Linked DNA regions of Homo sapiens: region 1 is linked to region 2. The links are contacts of gene promoters, found by promoter capture Hi-C in blood cells and fetal thymus (Javierre and others, 2016). All regions are on one chromosome and are shown on one strand. Each heading gives the region's core, a stretch centred on a gene start or on the middle of the fragment in contact. The rest is flanking DNA. Distances are from core to core; before and after follow the strand shown. Region 1 overlaps CHORDC1 (cysteine and histidine rich domain containing 1). Region 2 holds the start of ANKRD49 (ankyrin repeat domain 49).

What was found. Contacts are between HindIII fragments. The CHiCAGO score rates a contact against its expected background, and 5 or more counts as called.
Region 1: a contact is called between a fragment that was not itself captured here and the fragment with the promoter of ANKRD49 in region 2, in 2 of 17 cell types (total B cells and activated CD4 T cells). The highest score is 7.0, in total B cells.

The regions. Positions count from the first base shown.
Region 1 is chr11:90,193,391-90,201,072 of GRCh38, reverse strand. CHORDC1 (cysteine and histidine rich domain containing 1) reads left to right here. Exons shown (of 11, transcript NM_012124.3): 11 at 1-644. Among named protein-coding and RNA genes, the nearest start is that of CHORDC1, 26 kb to the left of the region's middle. The HindIII fragment of the contact is 7,147 bases long and covers 1-5,572 here.
Region 2 is chr11:94,492,734-94,496,599 of GRCh38, reverse strand. It overlaps ANKRD49 (ankyrin repeat domain 49), which reads right to left and starts at 2,616. Exons shown (of 3, transcript NM_017704.3): 1 at 2,565-2,616. It overlaps MRE11 (MRE11 double strand break repair nuclease), which reads left to right and starts at 2,756. Exons shown (of 20, transcript NM_005591.4): 1 at 2,756-2,809; 2 at 3,694-3,818. The coding sequence starts at 3,799. RefSeq lists an enhancer at 2,317-2,406. The HindIII fragment of the contact is 5,313 bases long and covers 744-3,866 here.

The sequences.
Region 1 (7,682 bases), core at 750-3,249, 4.3 Mb after region 2:
TTAATATAATTGTTAAAAGGTTTAGCTCTGTTACAAATAAAAACATAAAGATCTGGCAACCAGACTTTCATGATGTTACATTACCATGACAAGAAACTCTGGGCAGTAAAAGTTGGACCCACATGGAGTACATAAGCATCTGATACCTGGAGATGTATTTAAAATTTTTCAAGTTATCTTCCATGATTTAGGAACCATTTAGAGACATGAAGTCTTTATGGGTTGGGGGAAAGGTTGATAATTAGTTTGATTAAAGGTAATGATTAATATCCCTTTTTGTTCATACTTCCTTCTGAGGCTGTTTTCCCCTAAACAGTATCTTAATCTGTTACATGTAATTGAAATATTATTTGAAGCAGTGAGTTATTGTAACCTCAGATTAGTTACATTGATCAAAACATTGATTTATACACACACACACACACATACATATGTAGCTTTTATATTTAGTCTGGTTACATTAGTGACCATGGTATTTACTTTCTTCTTAAGGAGCCTTTGAATTTCTTGTCCAGATAAAAATCCGAATATTTCTCTTAGACTCATACATAAAGGGACACAGTTATCGTTAGGTAGCATATGTTTTACTATCGGTTTGTCAAAAAAGTTAATAAAAAGTGCTTATTGATTTATTTCTCTAGAAATTTGCTTTGTCTTTTTTAGCATTAAAAATAATTACTATAGCAAAGCAGTCAAAGTTAGGTATATTATATATATACTTGGTAACTAAAGATGGGAAACCTAAAATGCTATTTTTCTTTCATAGCACATTTACTAGTATAAAGGAAGTAAGATCCTAATAAACTGAGCCTTTATTTAACTTCTTTGACCTAGTTTTAGGTTTACAGAAAAGTTGTAAAAATACAACAGTTCTTTATGTCTTATATTAATCTTAATGTTAAAATCTTACGTTATCATAGAACATTTATAAAACTTAAGAAATTAACCTTTGTATAATACTATTAACTAAAGTAGAACATTTTATTTTTACCATCTGTTTTTAGTGGAATTCTTCAAGGTCTTAAGACTTGTCCTACTTTTTTGGTAATAATTTAAGCCAGTAATTTATAAACAATTAAGATATGATTAGGAATCAACAAATGTTTATAGGTTGAAGATGTAACTTCTTGGTGTAACTATACTGGCAAAGGACTGTAATGATTTTACTTTATTCTAATTTATATTTTATGCAAGGATTTAATTAAGAATTTTCTTCAGAAAATTATTCAACCATCAAAGTGTAGAGAAACTTAAAGAGTTCTTGCAAATATTTTAAAGGGACTTTGAGTTATTTCCCCTCTCCGAACTCCCAATTTTTTTTTTTTTTTTAATCAGTTATTCCTCAGCCTGAAAATTTATGTCATGCGTATACTCACAGTAAGTAAACTTTTTTTTTTTTATTTTTTTTATTTATTTATTTTTTTTTTTTTGAGACGGAGTCTCGCTCTGTCGCCCAGGCTGGAGTGCAGTGGCGGGATCTCGGCTCACTGCAAGCTCCGCCTCCCGGGTTCACGCCATTCTCCTGCCTCAGCTTCCCAAGTAGCTGGGACTACAGGCGCCCGCCACTACGCCCGGCTAATTTTTTGTATTTTTTTTTTTTAGTAGAGACGGGGTTTCACCGTTTTAGCCGGGATGGTCTCGATCTCCTGACCTCGTGATCCGCCCGCCTCGGCCTCCCAAAGTGCTGGGATTACAGGCGTGAGCCACCGCGCCCGGCCAAGTAAACTCTTAAAAGCTCATTTATGAGGGCTGGTGTCCCTTTTAGGATATATGGGTATGTACTCTGTAAATTTTGTTTTTAGCAGTCAGGTACTTTTAAATTATCTATTTGAACATTAACAGGGTTTTTTTTTGTTGTTCATCTTTTATGGCAAATTATTTTGACTTGGCATTCATATTTGTTATTTACTTTGTTTTCACCAGTATAATTCCATGGCCTCAGTTTTGAAATGCAAGCTATTAAGCCCAGCTTGTTTTTAGGTTTTGTTAATAGGGTTTTCTGTTTCATTTGTTTTGATTGTTTGATAGGTTTTTTGTTGTTGTTGTTAATTATCCCTGACTGCTTCCCTACTGCCCAGGTATCTTAACAACTTAATCTGGTGGTGTTGGATGGCTTGCCTTCTTCAGTTACGTATATGCCTATGGCTTTATACATATGGCACTATCTCTAAAATACCAGGCTTGCAGAGGTTTTCTTCTGCATGTTCTTTAACTTTTTAACAGAATTCTTCATTGTGAAGATTATCTTTAAGAACAGTTTTTCTGAAGACCATGTTTTCACTAAAAACTCAATGACTTTTCTTAGTTTTTCCGTTTAGTGGGTCACCTTTAATGTCCATTGAAAAGAAATATAACTTCCAGCCTTAAACATTTTTATGTTTCTTAAAGATTATGTGTCAAAATAATTCAATTTGCCATTCCTTTTTCATTAGGCAGAGATGCTGCTTAAATGTTTAAATTATTTTTTAAAAACTTTGCTAATAAAAGTAAAATCAGTGATTGAGTCTGGAAAAGGGAAACCTCCCTGAACTTGAGGCACTTTCCCCTCGTTCAGTAAAGAGGTTAGATGGATGTATTAATATTTTTAAACACCCTGATCCTTTTCTTCATTTTGCTTATTTCATTTTGCAGTTTCATATTTATTCAGATTTTATTTTTATGATTAACTTGTTAATCTTCTTTACCATGCTGTGAGGTGGGTTTTTTTATTCTTATATTACAGATGAGGAAACTGACTTTATGACATTGGTTAAGTAGCTTATCCAGAGTTCAGACTAATGAGTTGTGGTATAAAGATTTCAAACTCATGCAGCCTGCCTCTGTGTTGTTCCATGCTCTTAACCACTATTCTGTGCTGCTTCTGATATAACATGGGCATATAGCATGGAAAACTCTTAATGTGTTTGGTAACCAGGAACAATTTTTTTGTTGTGTTAGTAAAGTTATAAAATTATGTAGTAATTTTGCCTGGATGGTTTTGGATATAATAGCCAATTCATCACTTGTGATTTGATGACTCTTAGGGTCTCTAGTTTTTCTTAACAGCCTCCAAATTGAAGTTTCAGAATCCTTACTGCAAAAAGCACAAAAGTTTTCATTGCCATTTTGATAGTGATATGTAGCTCGTAAATAATAATTCTTACCTCTGTGTTAGATAAAACATCCAGTAAAACAGCATCAAGTTTAGCTTTGATAGAAGGGAACAATTAGAGTTGGTGTAGAGACAGACCAGTTAGGATGAGGGCATGAAATACAGCAGAAGCAGTAGGAAGAGAAGAGAGACTGAGGATCTTGAATTAGGGTCTAGATGAAAATTTAGGATGATTCCTAGGTTTGGGAATGGAGGGAGAGCTTAAACAAGATAGAGAATATAGACACAGATTTTGGAGGAAATGATTTTCTCAAGGGACTGCTGAGTCCAAGGAATGTTTACAAATCCTCAAGAAGTACTCCAGGCTATTTGTAAGATCTGAGGCTCATAGGCCTTTTCTGGCTCTCAGGATTTAGAGTCGTAATAGGCAGTAATGTAAATTCACTAGCTAACTTTGAGGTTGCAACATTCATAGCACTCTGAACTTTGAGGGCATCTTGTTTTAATTCAAAAAACTGGTAATCCCTGCTTTTGATTGTGATGTAAGTAGCAGTACACAAGCATGGGAATAAGTAAATCCAATAAAGGAGTATTTAGGCTCACCTGCTAAATACTCAGTGTGCCACCCAAACCATCTGTAATGGGTCCCCTTATTGAAAACATTCTTTTTCCAGAATGGGCAAGGAAGGCTGGATGGGCAAAAGCAAAATAAATGTACCACAGACCCTTGATTCTGTTAGTATCAGTGATAAAACATGATTGATAAAACTAGGCATGATACATTCTTAAGGTACAGAAAAATGTGGAAATTGTGTCAAGAAAATTCACAAATTTTAAATGGTTCTTTAGGCTGATAGTAATAAATGGGATCATTATAATTTTATGTAAAACCTTCAAAGGCTTCCTACTAAAGAAAGCTGAATTCCAGTAACAGATTGAGCCCAGACTACTCAGTTCATATTTGAGGCCAACTTAGACTATTTTTGATGCCTTAAAGATTCCTTCAAGTCCCCTTTCTCTTTCTACCATACCCCCAGTAAAGCTACTTAAAATCCTCTGTAGGAAAGAGCTGAGTAATTGGGGGCAGAGATGGAGGACAAATTTAAGGGAACAGAAAGCCATTGGGAAGACAAATGAAAGCCAGAATCTGAAGATAATTTTAAAACCTTCAGGGAAAGTAGGTGTCTAATCACAGGACTTAATTCACTTGAGTAGAAATTTGTAATTTAGCCATAGGAATTTAGGAAGTGTTAGTTACAAGAGGTAACTTGAAGCTGTGGACATGATGATAGCTTTTGTTGCATAATTAGAATGTGCCAAACACTTTGCTAAGTGCTTATGATAGCTTTTCTCTTCAGAACATCACCATGATTATTTACAGTATAACCTGTATTTTACAGATGGAGAAATGTAGGCAAAGGAAAGGGGCATAACTTGCCTCCAGGGTCACATAGATAGCAAATGATGAAATTTAATTTTAAAATTAGAAACTGATTCCAAAGTCCTTACACTCTTAACCATGAAACTGAAGACATCTAAGTCACCACGCAAAACCCAGAATCTAAATGGCCATTTATTAGTGCTTATTCCTTTATTTCCTAATATTAATTAAATGACTTAATTACCATGAGAAGATAATGTGCTTTCAGTTTTCGCAGTAGTTAGTTCAGCCATTGATTTTCTTACTAAGAACCTCTAAAAGGCCAATGGGCAGTTGACAAAAATTAGGGATGGATTCTGCAGCTGTAAGACCAAGTGAAAGTAAAAGGCCCATGGCGGTAAATTTGTCCCTTGCAGGCAGTTTGTTCTAAATGCTTGTGCCTAGAAATAAACTTAGCCTTATTATCATCTGGACTCTGAGCAATTTTTGCATCTCAGTATTCTTAGATGTGGATGATTAAAAGGCCACGTATGAAGGCAGCTAACATAAGACACTTTGTGGGAGTGAGATAATTCATTAAAATCAAATATTAGTGTATTAGGCAAACAAATTCAATCATTTCAGTTATGTAAAGCTAGCTGGGTTCTCAGTTTTAGCAAGTTAGGGAAGATATCACATTACAGGAGAAAGACAATCTAAAAGTTTTTGAAGTTTTAATGGATTTAACCACTTGTAAAATGTTATAAATTGTAGGACACTTCTCCCAGAGAGATCCTCTAGCATACATGGATGATTTACTTTTCATATTTATGATTTGGCAGGAAAGTTTGAGTTCATTTGAAGTTAGGCTTTTTAATAGTTTTTCTCCTCCCAGTGAATTTTTCTGAGTTGATAGGTGTAAAATTTATAGATTTTATTGATAATAAAAGTTTGTAAGCATCTTTAATGTAGCGATTCCATTGCTTATTTTTTATTCAGCACTCAGGTCACTTCCTATGTGCTGGAGATAATTAAAGACTCCACTTCCAAGAAAGGATACAACAAGGAAAATAAGAGGTTGTTAAATAAAAATTATGCCAAAGATAAGCCTGTAGAAAGCTTCTGTGGTGCGTATTTGGTAGATTTTATGGATGGATTTCGTGAAGGATAAATAGCAGAGTCCTGAGGGGGGAAAAAAGGATAGAAGTGGCCAAATACAAGAGAGGAAATGGGAGAAAGAATAGGATATGAAGAAGCCTGGCATTGAGAGGTGGTATTGGCCTGTTAAGAAAACTTGTTTGCCTAGCCCCTAAGTTCTAGTCTCACTCAGTATTGGGTTTAGGGCTCCTCTAGATTCTAGTACATCATGATAGATCATGCAGTCAGTAAAAGTCCTGCTGATTTTCCCCAGTAAAGTGCTTTAGTCCACACAAAGCCTGATCTTTAATCCATGCCTAGAATTGGCAAATGATGCCAGGAAAGAAAACAGTTGGTAGTCTCAGCTATGTAGAAAAGACAAAGACTTTTAGTACATCTAGTCTTAAGCGCTTCCACAGCTCTTTCGTATCTGTAATGTATTTTGCATTTGATCCATTTTTTCCTAGTTACTGCACCTGGGAGCGACTGCCAGTACTACCACATCATTTCGGTAGTGGAGGTCCCCATTGAAGGTTTTTTTCATAGCACATAGCATGATCACGTCTAGGAAGATCGTTCTGGCTGTAGATAGTATAATTATCTACTAATACAAAGGGGGAAAGGACGTGAGATGATGTGAAAGGAAGTTTTGCATCATTTACTTGAAAGATACTGTTCTTCTGAATTTAATCACATTGGGGATTGGAAAAAGTAGATGAATAAAAATTAAAAAGAAAAAAACAAATGAGTTCATGAAGTTAAGCAATTAAAGAAAAAGACAAATCTAATACAGTACTGTAATTATTTCAAAGGTTACTATTTTACCCTAAACTCATTTCTATACTTGAAAGTTCAAGGATCGATTGATATTTTTGAAATTCTGAACTAAATGGAAATATTAAGATGGCTCATGTGTGCATATATAAATGTTATTTGTATCCTCAGAATAAACTAATAAATTTCAAGGGTACAAAATAGGATTACTATTTGTGAACTGTATTGTATCCCAGAACTCTGTACTTTTGTCTGTTCAAAATGAAAACAGTAGTTATTATATTATTTTAACCCTTATAAAAGGGAATATGATGTAAAAAATTTTAGCAATTCAGTACAGAGTACAAGTCACATAAAAGTCTACCACCGAAATGCAAGCACTATTTGTATTTTGTTTGATATTCATATATTTAGTTTTATCACTTTTTTTAACCAGTAAGTCATGGACAACTTACTATATAAGTGAAAAATGTATATATGATCATTGTATGATCATTTTTATATTATACTATAATCAATTCTCCATTGATATTTAGCTTGTGATTTTTTTTTTTTACTATTTTTTACTGTGATAAAAAATGCTGTGGTAAACACCTTTGTGTCACATACATTGTCATTCTGTCCAGTTTTCTCTATAGAAACCAATTTTTAGAATTTCTTGGTTAAAGTATATACATTTCACGTGCTTTTTTACTAGTTTTTATATTAGACAACTTCTGATTAAACATTTAGTTTAAATGATTAAAAGTATGGCATTACAATAAGAATTTATGGCTTATTTGATTTTAAAAGTAGGTCTTAAAACAGGCAATATACTGTGACAAGCAAAATATTTCCATGTCATTATTTCGTAAGTATCCTTAAGAGGAACAGTATCTCTCTCAGGACTTGGACCAAGGAATGAGATCAAAGGGGAATAATGATTAGCAGCTTAATTCAGCTGATCTCAAATGCTTAGGGGAAAAGTTTTTTTAAAAAGTTCAAACATATGCCCTATTTAACATGTGATAACACATATTCTATATTAAATATCCTGAATTGATTATAGTGCATGCCACACAATCACTTGTTCTGTTGCTAACAATCAGATATTGATTAAAAATGATTAAAAAAAACAAGAATTAAAGGAAAAATTAAATTGCAATAATTACTATTTTACTCCAAACTCATATTTCAGACCAAATATGCTGTTCTGGCAGCTCGCATTTGTCTTCAGGAAAACTACCAGTAGGAAGAACACCCAAGACATTTCTAAACCTTTGTGCTTTGTCTCCTTTAGAAATGATAGAGTTGGAGGGAACTGATGCCCAGAGATACGTA
Region 2 (3,866 bases), core at 1,367-3,866:
AAACACAAATACAAAAGTTATTAGTAAAACAATAATTCAGGCTTTATCAACTGCATAGATAAGTCTTGCAAACATATACAATTAAACCCTGTCTAAACTCTTGTTTTTCTCATGATATCCCTTACATACACTAAATACTGATGCTGACAGAAAACAACAAACTATGATCTAATAGTGGTCTAATGCTTCTTACTTTTGTTGTTTTCTTCTAAGTCAATTATATTATTATAACTATTATTTTTAATCTACTGGTTTAGGTATGATGGTGTTATGCTAACAGTGATGAATGCTTAAAGGTTTTGAAGTATAACTAATACAATGAAGACAGGTGCATTCAAGATTTTTATAAACTAGACACACAGATAATATAGAGCAGAAATAAAAACTTCTAATTCCTAAAAATACTATTTCGAAGAATCAGGGATTCTTGAAGATGGAATAGCCCCCAAAAGGACATCTGTTCCAATCTGTCATCGGTACATATATCTTTATCACAGCATCTACACTAATTATCCTATTTCTACTTTGATAATTTCAGGCCTAGGAAAATTCACTGCTTTAAAAAGTAGTCCTGTTTATTGATAGGCAACTATAGTTCTTAGTTGGGTCCTTGTTTTCAACTGAATTTTGGCTGTCATTCATTCCTTCATTCAACTAATATGAATAGAATGTCTGGTATGTGCCAACTTCTGGGTACTGGGATTCAATAATGAGCAAGATCCATGTCTTCACCTCAGGAAGCTTACTCTAGTGTAGGTGACTGGCAAAGACATCATGTGTCTGGCAAAGACAACATGATAAGTACTACTACAAGACCTTGTCTAGAAACCATGAGTATACAGGAGGTTCATAATTCCCCTAGTCCTAAGGGATTAAAGAAGGCTTCCTGAAGGAACTGATGTTTATTCTGCTAAGCTGCCATATTAATTTTTAAACCAATATCAGCTTAAAGGGTTACACAACATATAAACCTTAATCAATTAAAGAAAAGGAGAATAACCAATAGATAATTTACAAATACGAATTCCCAGCCTCTCAACTCTATTTGTTGAAATATAATCAGTCTTTCAAGGCTCTTCTCTGATGTTATCTCTTTCATTCTTTCTTGATCCTCTCATTTAGATCGCTTTCTGCTTTCTACTTTTTTTGGTGCTACATTTCACCTCTAACTTTGTTCTTGTTTTAGCCCCTTAAAAGATTATAAGCTGAAAGATAAGGACCACATTTAACTTATATTTATCTCCTACTTGTCTATAGAAGGCATTAAGAAGTATGTGTAGCATTACATTTAATTAAAGTCTTGTCACTTGATTTTGCCTGGAATGGATTCTGAGAAGTTCCAGAGTTAGGCATAACCCCAAGATACTGATTTCTTGATACCTAATCTCACAAGTTTAACAGTATACAATCTTAATGTGGTATTAAACTTTATTACTAGTGGCAATAGCACTAAACTCAAGTTTAAATGTATTACTCATGTCCAGTAACTTTTCTGGTCCTGTTACTTTATTGTAAAATGTAAGAATTTTACTAAAGTATTCCTAAGGCCAATCCGGCTTTTCAGTCACCCAATCAGAGACACCCTTGGAATCAGAGATATCCAATCAGAATTGCTCTGTGTTTTATTAATTCTCCTGGAGCTTCCACTTTTTCTTTGATTCTCAAACTAATTCCTGAACCTTGCAACACAAAAATGACCATACATCAATTCATTAAACACTTAACAGATGCTAATAAATAAAAGTTCACTTGTAATTATATCAAATATAGTAACCTTATACCACAGATCTTACCCTCTCCCCCAACATGCTTTTCCTTTCAATAAAAACTCCCTTTATATAAATTTTGAGTTTACAGATCCAGATACAAAAAATTATGTACAAAATTTTACTGGTATATTTAGTTTAAAAAGCCAAGCCTAGGCGCATCTACCCGACTTACAGTTAAGAAACAAAACTGATGACTTGATGATGATATTCCTGATATTCCATCAGGAATGTCAGGGTATGTTTCCTAACTTAAAGGGCATATCCTATTTTGAGAGAGATCCGAACTATGTCAACTCCTTACAAACAACTCAGTGATAGGCGGGGCTATAAACCTTACTGGTGAAGGAGGTTCAGATAGATTAAAACAACTTGCCCTAGATCAAGGACCCTTCAATGGAACTGAAAGGGCAGACGTTCTAATTCAAAAGTTCTACATTATTTTTCGCTGCACTATACATCTTACTGCTCTCAGCACAAAGCAGTGCAGATGTGCTGAACTCAAGGACCTAGGGGCGACACCTGTAGAGGGTCTGGCGACTGGGAGGGAGGGAGAGGGGATCCAGCTCCGGCACTCTGCCACCAGCCGGGAGCTCACAGGCCCGTGAGCTCCGCCTGCGGCCTTCCAAACAGCCAAGAGCGGAGAAGCGGCTTCGGTCCTACCTGGGGACCACGAAGCGGCCTGACCTGCAGGGCTCGGCCTGTGTCCACAGGCTACCCACCCCCACGGGCTCAGGAGTTCTTAGATGGCGCCGGTCCATCAAAAAGCGAGGTCCGGGACAGGGAATAACAACCCACCTGACAGAAGGGAAAATCGCCGCCTTGCATCTCACTTCCGGGTTCGTCTCCTAGCCTGCTCAGGATTGGCTCCTGCGTGAGGGCGGGGCCTCGCCGCTACTTTCCCCGCCCCCTCACTGCGTGCGGTAGCCAATGAGAGCCGAACTGGACTTGAAGCATCTACGTTATCCATGAAGTGTCGCGAGAGAAACGGACGCCGTTCTCTCCCGCGGAATTCAGGTTTACGGCCCTGCGGGTTCTCAGAGGCAAGTTCAGACCGTGTTGTTTTCTTTTCACGGATCCTGCCCTTTCTTCCCGAAAAGAAGACAGCCTTGGGTCGCGATTGTGGGGCTTCGAAGAGTCCAGCAGTGGGGTAATTTAGGAATCGCATTCGTCTCCTGTTTCTGCAGGTTCCCAGGCGGAAGCCCAGAGTTAACTGGAACCTCGGGAAGAGCGGGCCGAGTGGGCAGGGGAGGGGTCCTGGCGGGCTCAGCGTTCTGATTCCGAGGTTCCCTGCGGTGAGGGCGTGTTGAGGCTTGGAATCCCGACGGAATCTGGAGCTCCAGATGTGGTGGGGGTTGTCTCGCGGTGGCAGCCACTCTTCCCCAAACCTGGCTATTTTCAGTCATCCTGCTGGTGCTTAAAGGTGTTCCTCCGCAGACCACGTGTTTGTTTATTTACACTCGCTTTAAACGCGGGCCCGTTCCCTTTTCCAAACTAGCCAGGTCCTTTAAAAAAAATCGTGGGGTTTGAATAGGAAATACAGGATTGCCTCTGTTCTCCAGAGTAACCTATGCGTGCAACTTAAAAATATCTGCACATCTAGAGTTGTTTGTGTGTTGAACCAGAACCGTATGTGACCCTTTCTGCCCATTTATTTAGCATACATTAATTTCCCATAAGAGCACGGGAAAGGAAAATAGGAGTTTAATCATCTTGGTGAAACTAGGAAACAGGATGTACACTGGAGATATATTATTTTCTATGCTCAGTTCATTAAAAAAAAGTATAGTGGGTGCTTAGATGAAAATGAGACTTCTAAATTTGCCAGTCTAATTAAGACGTCTGTACCTTGTGCAGCGTAAATCATGTTGGTTAAATACGTGCAGGCTTTTAAAAAATGTGTTTTATGATGTAATTTTGTTTTTAGAATTTCTAGAATTTGGAATCGAGTGCATTTTCTGACATTTGAGTACAGTACCCAGGGGTTCTTGGAGAAGAACCTGGTCCCAGAGGAGCTTGACTGACCATAAAAATGAGTACTGCAGATGCACTGTAAGCACCTGACTTCTGGAATCCCTTGTTATTTGGGGTTTCTAAAGC